Linked DNA regions of Homo sapiens: region 2 is linked to region 1. Evidence: promoter capture Hi-C in 16 types of primary human blood cells and fetal thymus (Javierre and others, 2016). All regions are on one chromosome and are shown on one strand. Each heading gives the region's core, a stretch centred on a gene start or on the middle of the fragment in contact. The rest is flanking DNA. Distances are from core to core; before and after follow the strand shown. Region 1 holds the start of APPBP2 (amyloid beta precursor protein binding protein 2). Region 2 has its middle 12 kb from the start of CA4.

What was found. The method cuts DNA at HindIII sites, captures the fragments that hold promoters and counts their contacts. A CHiCAGO score of 5 or more calls a contact.
Region 2: a fragment that was not itself captured here is called in contact with the fragment with the promoter of APPBP2 in region 1 in 2 of 17 cell types (fetal thymus and erythroblasts); the score reaches 6.0 in fetal thymus.

The regions. Positions count from the first base shown.
Region 1 is chr17:60,523,813-60,527,829 of GRCh38, forward strand. APPBP2 (amyloid beta precursor protein binding protein 2) reads right to left here and starts at 2,430. Exons shown (of 13, transcript NM_006380.5): 1 at 1,982-2,430. The coding sequence starts at 2,119. RefSeq lists enhancers at 1,341-2,049, 1,770-2,039 and a silencer at 2,120-2,259. The HindIII fragment of the contact is 8,801 bases long and covers 1,793-4,017 here.
Region 2 is chr17:60,135,908-60,139,813 of GRCh38, forward strand. No RefSeq gene overlaps it. Among named protein-coding and RNA genes, the nearest start is that of CA4, 12 kb to the right of the region's middle. RefSeq lists an enhancer at 3,149-3,682. The HindIII fragment of the contact is 5,598 bases long and covers 1-3,906 here.

The DNA.
Region 1 (4,017 bases), core at 1,180-3,679:
ATCTTAAGATAGATATCTAAGTAAAAGAGCAAGGAACTCAGGAACTAAATATCAGGTTTGAGACCTTAATTAAATTACTTAACTTTCTCACCAATAAAGCAAGGTTATACTGTACTCTACTTCACAGTTTAATTCTGAAGATTAAACAAAATAACACATAAAAGCACAACATAGTTACAGGCACATGTTTAACACTTCCCTCATCTTAGCACAGTGCCATACTCCCAATAAGCATACAACTATTAAGAAGTAAAAGTGTACCAAAAAGGAGCAATATTAAAACTGTGTGAACTATGTGAAACAGAAATTCTAACAAAAGCACCATCTATTCATACTAATAATCTTCAAATGAAAAGCTTCAATTAGAAGTGAAAGTTACTAAAAGATATTCAAGTATTTTGAACGAATTCAACTAGTAAATACACTTGGATTACATTCCCAATGATTTCCTCTGAGAGATTACATATGAGGTACAAGATTACACATGATTTAATAAAATGGACAGAGAGCACACACAAAGCTGCAGTTTCCCAGGCTGAGAAAGACAAATCTAATTTGTCCTTCCTGGGGAGGAATGTATCTTAAATGAACAAAATTTCCTTAGAATACACAAAAGTAAATCAATGTATCAAAGGGATTAGGAAAAAAGGGAGCTTTTTCTCGAAATCCAAAATAATAATACGCATGACCTAAATGAATCTTCTCCAAATATTTAGGGGGGAAACCCCACTTTAATTGTTAGAATTGGTGCAAAGCAGCTGGATTTAGTAGAACGCAGCCCATCAACTGCTAATTCTGAAAAAAAAAAAAAAAAAAAAAAAAAAATCTAGGGGTGGAGAAAGCAGGCAATCTTCCCAATAAAACAACTGCCACAAAACACTGTACATACGTAAGAACATAAACATCTGTTAAAATATCAGTTTACACTGTTCCAGCCAACTTACAGATCAAGAGGAAGTATTTAAGGTCTAAAAAATAAATTACATTCTACTTTTAGTCACATTTTGCATGGGTGGCTACTGGACACTAGGAGTTATCGACGCGGATTCAAGACAAGGAAGACTGAATAATAAATCCAGTGTTCACATTCAAATGTGGGGGAGAGAAAAGGGCAGGCTCTGAGTCCATAAAGTTCTCCACACTCTGAAAACACTGCAAAAATAGTCCACATCTAAGGACACTTACCCTTGAAACTCCTTGGAGAGTGGCTTGGGAGACTTGCTGTTCAGATTTTTGAGGGGGAGTGATTTAAGAATGCTGCAAGATTGCAACTTTCAAACACAGGAACATAATCTAAAGTGTTTTTTTCTTTCAGTAAAGATCTCTCCCTGTCCTCTTCAAACAGTTGATCAGCACTCCCATTTTCACAAAATCCCTAATTCAAGTATAGAGCCCCTCCTCTCCCACAAAAAAATCAAAGCTTTAAAGAATATGCAAATAAAACACACAGATTATTTCCAATAATCCCTAACTCCTTCCCAATTGGGAAAAGAAAGGAGAAACGAAGGAACACGAAGCAAAAACACCAAAACACTCGGGGAAGGAAGGCGGCGAGATGAGAAAGTAGGAATGGGTGGGGGGAGGAGCACGGAAAAAAGTCCAGCTGATGCTGACACTTAATTGGAAGGAGAGGATGGAAAATATCCTGAAGATACGGGCTAGAAGGAAAGGACTAGGTGGGACAGGGGCGCGATAGAGTAAGTCCACGCAAAAGGCCTACCCAAGAGGGCCACTGTGTAGAAGGGAACACCAACAGGGAGCAAGACTCCCCAAGATTACTTCAAGGCCCCAAAGCTTAAGAGACAGGGCATAGGGAGATGGGGTGCTTCTCCACTGGCAATGCAGACACCGCACCAGACGTTTCGGGAGGCAAGTCTGCCGGAAGGGGTGAGGGGTTAACTGCGGGGGTTCGCAGACGTGGAAGGGGGTGCGGCCCCCGGGGTTGCTGGAGGAGAGCAGAGAGGAGGCCCACGGCGCATACCTTGTAGTAAACATCAAACTGGATGTTCTCGGGCAAGGAGCGGATGTCTCGGCGGGAGCGGATGTAGTTGTCCACGACAGCGGAGATGGCGGTGTTATAGAGAGTCTCTGGGATCCACTCTAGTTCCACGGCCGCCATCTTCCTTCCCTCCTCCTCCGCCTCCTCCGCCTCCTCCTCCCGAAGGCCCCCACCTCCCTCCGTAGCGAACCCCTCTGCGGCCCCGGAGGATTCGGAGGGGCGGTGGCAGCCACGCGGGCGCACGGCAGAAGGCACGGCCGCCCTGCCTCCTCCGGGGGCAAACTGAGGGACGGCGGCAGCGGACGCAGGCCCGAGTAAAAAGTGGGACAGAAAACAGCGGCCAGCCAGGCCAAAAGCGTCACAATCCCGGTTCGAGAGGAACCCGGGTTCCGTCCCAGCGCTGATCTCTGCAGGGGCGGGGCTGCGTGTGCGGCGTCATGACGTAAGCGCACGCCGGCGCGCCGGAGGGGAGGAATGCGGCAGGCGGAAAACTTAGGAAGAGCTGGATGCCTCCCACGGAGAGCGTCCCTTCCAAGCGGCCCCGGAGTGGAGTGGAGTGGAGTGGATAGGGGTAGACTTTTCACACGGGGACAAATTATTACAGGATATCTGCGCCCCCTGTTCCGAGTCACTCGGGGCCATCGGTTACTTCAGCAGGTTCTCTGCATCACGGACCCTTTTGAGGCTCAGGTAAAAGTTTGGATCCTCTCCCCACAAACGAGCAAAATTATCTGTACATTGAAAATTATGCATTGAGAAAATTCACATTACTCTAGAAACCCTTAGACTGCAGTTCCTAACCCAAGTTAAGAACCCGCGGTCCAGGAACTAGGGGTAACGATAGAAGAGAGACTTGTTTTTCTTTGTATAACCATTTGCACCGTTGTAACTTTTTGACCATGTTTCTTTATCCAAATGAAATTTCCGAAAAAAGAAAACTCCTGCCCCAGAACTTCGTAGGAAAACTAGCTTGATTATGGAATTACAAATAATAGTAAGAGAAAAAAGGCTAAGTGGTGGCCGTGATAGGACTTAATGGTATTTCAATTCCCAGAGTTACAGTGGCGGCTTCAAGGGATTGTTGAATAATTGGGAGTACTTGTTTCAGCTTCTTTCCTTCCTCAGCCTGAACATCTGCTGTTTATGTAACTTAATTTCCTAAGTCTGCGATTTCAAGAATTTGATGCAACATCTTTCTGTTCTAGGAATTTACCATGGAAATTATTGGCCATAATTGTTGGTGACACTATCAAACTCATAGTCACTCTATAACGATGTAAGTCCAGAAAACAGCCATAATAATAATGTCCTGATTGATATTTAGAGCTAAAAGAAGTGGAAAGAGTTATTTCAATTTACCCTTCACCTGGTACTTCAGTGTTAAGTGGTTAAATAATTCCACAAAAAATAAACACTCTTAATCTTCTTCAGTCTATATAAATTCTTACTCTATACTGTGAACCTAGGAAAGCTGTGGATGGCCTCAAGATCAGATTGCCAGTTTAGCAAGTAAAAAACTACAAGGCTGGGCGCGGTGGCTCACACCTGTAATCTCAGCACTTGGGAGGCCGAGGCGGGTGGATCACGAGGTCAGGAGATCGAGACCATCCTGGCTAACACGGTGAAACCCCGTCTTTACTAAAAATACAAAAAATTAGCCCGTGGTGGCGGGCGCCTGTAGTCCCAGCTACTCGGGAGGCTGAGGCAGGAGAATGGCGTGAACCCGGGAGGCGGAGCTTGCAGTGAGCCAGGATCGCGCCACTGCACTCCAGCCTGGGCAACAGAGCGAGACTCCGTCTCAAAAAAAAGAAAAAAAAAATTACAAGTGCCCAGTCACATCTTAATGTCAGATAAACAACAAATGGTTTTGAAATGTAAGTATGTTCTGTGCAATAGTTTTGCTCATGCCTTCGGAGCCACTCAAGTGTATCAGTTCATTCAGCAAATCCTTCATCACTTCTTAGACACTGGCGCTTTTGAAGATCAGGATCCCTGCCCCACATAAAAGAATAATTATT
Region 2 (3,906 bases), core at 570-3,069, 390 kb before region 1:
GCGTAGAAGGAGAGGTTGACCCCGAAGAGTTAAGATTCTCGAAGCACACTATTTATCCGTGGCCCTCCTCCTCCTTCGCGGGGTAGCTTGGGGCAAGTCATCTATTCTCTCTAGATCTGTGTTCTGCCTAAAAATTAATGAATGGGACAAAATGGTCTCTACAGTCCCTTGTTTATCCTGGCCCTGCAAATCCAGGATCGCTGCCGTTGTATCTCAGTCTGATGTCGGTGGTCTTGCGCTGGCCGGTGTTCTGAAACTTTGTCGGCAGTAACATGCACTCCAGTCAGTCTCTTCAGTCCAGGACACCATCGCCGGGGAAACTGAGGCATAAGAAAAATAAAAATGAGCATTGTCCATCCACAAATATGTATTGTGCTCCCGTTGTGTATCTGGCACTGCCCTGGTGCTGGGTCCCCTATGAGAAACAGGCATGGTCCTTGTGCCCCTAGTTATAAACTATGTCACTTCCATCAGACTCTGAGATCCCCAGGGAGGAGCTGTACTCTCATCAAGCTGCTCTCATCAGCAGACAGGAAGGAGACAGACTTGTAGGCCTGCATGCTCCTGTGCTCCTCTTGAACTCCCAGCTCAGCCACTGGCTGCCTTTTACCCACAGATCTGAAAGGAGCCAGGGCGGACAGGCTCCAGCAGTACCTCTTTTCTTGAGGAAGCCACCTTCTCCTGGCTGTCCAACCCTGAAAGGACCTTGGAAGTTTGGGGGAGTCCCTCTTGGCACTCTGATTTATCCAGAATGCACCTAATCACCCTCTACACATGCACACCCGCCCCCCCCCCCCCCCCGACACACACTCCTCCAGCCTGATACCCTGCTGGGGTTCTTTTGCAGAGTTTTGTCTTGAGGTCATCAGAGAGGTCGTGCTCCATGGGGCATTGAAGCACCACAGAGAAAAACCCCTGCAAGGCCAGGAAAGCATCTGAGAGGCATCTGAAGTCAGAAGGCCTGTGCCGGAATCCTAGCTGTTTCTGGCAGTGTGGTCTGGGTAATTTAACTTCTACCAGCACCATGTGTATAAATGAACATCATCACAGCACATACCTCACAGATTGCTGAAAGGATTAAATGAAATGATGGATATAACTCACTTGCAGCATGCCTGGCAGAGACATATAGTAAATGGGCAAGAATTGGGAGCTACTGTTATTATTGTGTTATTGTGATTATATTCAGCAGGAAGGAGGCCTCCCAGGCTAGGCGCCAGTCCTTGATGAGAAGGTGCCCACTTTATGTCCTCTCCTGTTTCTAACTCTCCTCTTCTGCCTTCTGTGGTCCCAGCTGAGTGGCTGTACCTCAGCAATATCCAGTTTCCTGCCTCAGAACATGAAGCCCAGATATACAAGCTGAAGGAGGGTGCCACATTTGAGAGGCAAGGGAAGATCAGGCGGGGACCCTGTGCTTCAGAGCTTTGGTCACATCCGCAAGGAGCACAGCAGGCCCTACCAGATAAACAGACAAAATCAGGAGGGCTCCAAGGTGGGACAGAGAAGGAAGATTGTTAAAAATTGAATCTGCTAGACTGGGCGTGGTGGCTCACACCTGTAATCCCAGCACTTTGGGAGGCCGAGGCAGGCGGATCACGTGAAGCCAGGAGTTCGAGACGAGCCTGGCCAACATGGCAAAACCCCATCTGTACTAAAAATACAAAAAATTAGCCAGGCGTGTGGTGCGAGCCTGTAGTCCCAGCTACTCGGGAGGCTGAAGCACAGAATTGCTTGAACCCGGGAGGTGGAGGTTGCAGTGAGCTGAGATCATACCACTGCAGTCTATCCTGGGCAACAGAGCAAGACTCTGTATATTTTAAAAAAAAAGGCAAAAATTGAATCTGCTGTGCCCAACCAAGCCATCAGCTGATCAGCTGTGGGGTCCTGCCCTGAATCATTTACTCCTCACCCTATCTCTGGGACCATCAGGGCAGGCAGGCAGCAGCAGATGTTTTCCAAGCTCTACTGCTCCCAGGCCAGCATGACATCTGCAGTGACCATTTTAACAGGCTGGACACCCTCGTGTCCCCCTACCACTTATCCTTGGCCCACTTGCCACTTGTGCCTTACCCAGTGGGGAGGGAGTGGCAAGGCCTTGGCTCTGGGTTCCACAGGTAGAGTTTTGCAGAGGAGTCCAGTGAACTCATTCTTTACAAAACCTACCCAGGCCTGCTTTCAGCCACCCCTCCTGCTAAGATTATATGTAATATATAATATTATATATAATTTTTTATAGAGACAGGGTCTTCCTCTGTCACCCAGGCTGGAGTACAGTGGCATGAACACAGCTCACTACAGCTGCAAACCCCTGGGCTCAAATGATCCTCCTATCTCAGCTTCTTGAGTAGCTAGGACTACAGGCATGCACCACCAGGCCTAGCTTTTTTTTTTTTTTTTTTTTTTCTGTAGAGATAAGGTCTCACTGTCTTGCTCAGGCTGGTCTGGAACTCCTGGCCAAGCCATCCTCCTGCCTTGTCCTCCCAAAAATGCTGGTATTACAGACATGAGCCACCGTGCCTGGCCAAGAGACTATATATTTTGAGCAGCTGCTGGAAAGCGGGGACTAAGTTCTGGTCTGAGGAGAACTTCCTGGGCGTCCAGGAAAGAAATATCTGACATTGTTGGTGCACAGTGAGTATAGTCCTCACTGGTCACCCAGAGGACAGGGTGTGGCTCCCTCCACAGTGTAGCTCCCTAGCCCCCAAAAGCTGGACCTGGGCTCTCCCCAGTCACCAGAGATCCCTCTCCTTCGTCCCCAACAAAGTGTTTGGCTGGCTGCAGCAACTGTGCAGACCCTGACTAGTGGACATTCCTAAGTACCAGGGGCTCGCCTTGTGTCCCGCCAGGCTGGTCCAGAAGGCTGTTGCGGGCAGGTGGGATAAGAAATTCAGGAAGCTGAAACAGCCAGAAGGTGGAACCTGGCCGGCTCGGGGGAACTGCCTGTGGAATGGCCCAGCGCTGAATGAGTGGAACAGTGGGTGGGCCTTGAAAGCGAACTCAGGAGATGGGGCGTTGTGTATAGGCAAGTCGCTAACCGGGAGCCCCGCGCCTCATTCCGACTGGATCAGGGGGCCCCGCCTGTCCACGGTCCCCATGCGCGGTGCGCTCCCCCTCCTAGGGCCGTAATTGCCGCAGCCATCCCTACGCGTCTCCAGCCCCCGTCGTCTTTGTCCATTCGGTTCCGAGGCCGCGCTTGGACTGGGGCGCCCACGACTGACCCCGGAGGCACAGCGAACGGGGCAGCTGCAGGGACTCCCTGTCCTGCAGGCGACTGGGCTCCCGCGAGGCAGCAGGTGCCGAGGACTAGCAGCAGATCTGGTGTGCAGAACCCTGGATTCGAGTCCCGGCTTCAGAGACCCTCGGCTGTGTGACGTGGAGGCGTCGGCCGCCCTCTGAGAGCCTTCGTGGATGACAGCTGATGCTTGGGCCTACCTTCCTCGGCTGCTGAGAGGCTCAGAAGGGACCGCGTGTAAAACGCCTTGGAATCTTAAATCTACTTAATTCCATTTACCTGCTTCCCAGAAACGGTCCATGGCTTCCGTCCCGGTCATAGCGCTGCGCAGCGGGACCGTTCTGCCCCGCTGCCCTCGAACAGCCCGTCCGCGCTCCATTGCCCCTCCAGGTGCCGTTATTTTGCCTTTTAACCTGGGGCGGGAGGTTTTAGACGAGGCTGCAAGTCTGGGCCAGCGGGGACCTGAGGGTCCCTTGCAACCAGCACCCGCGACGGTGTCTACACTGGAATTCCAAGGAAAAGAGGGCTCCAGGGGCGCGACCAAGGTTTGGTCTTCTGCTGAGCGCTGCTGGATGAATCGCCAGCCTTCGCCCGCGGCCCCCTCCTCCTCATCCCTGACCCCAACTCGACAAGATCCCCCGAGCGCAGGCCCAAACTCCGCACAGCTTGTGGGC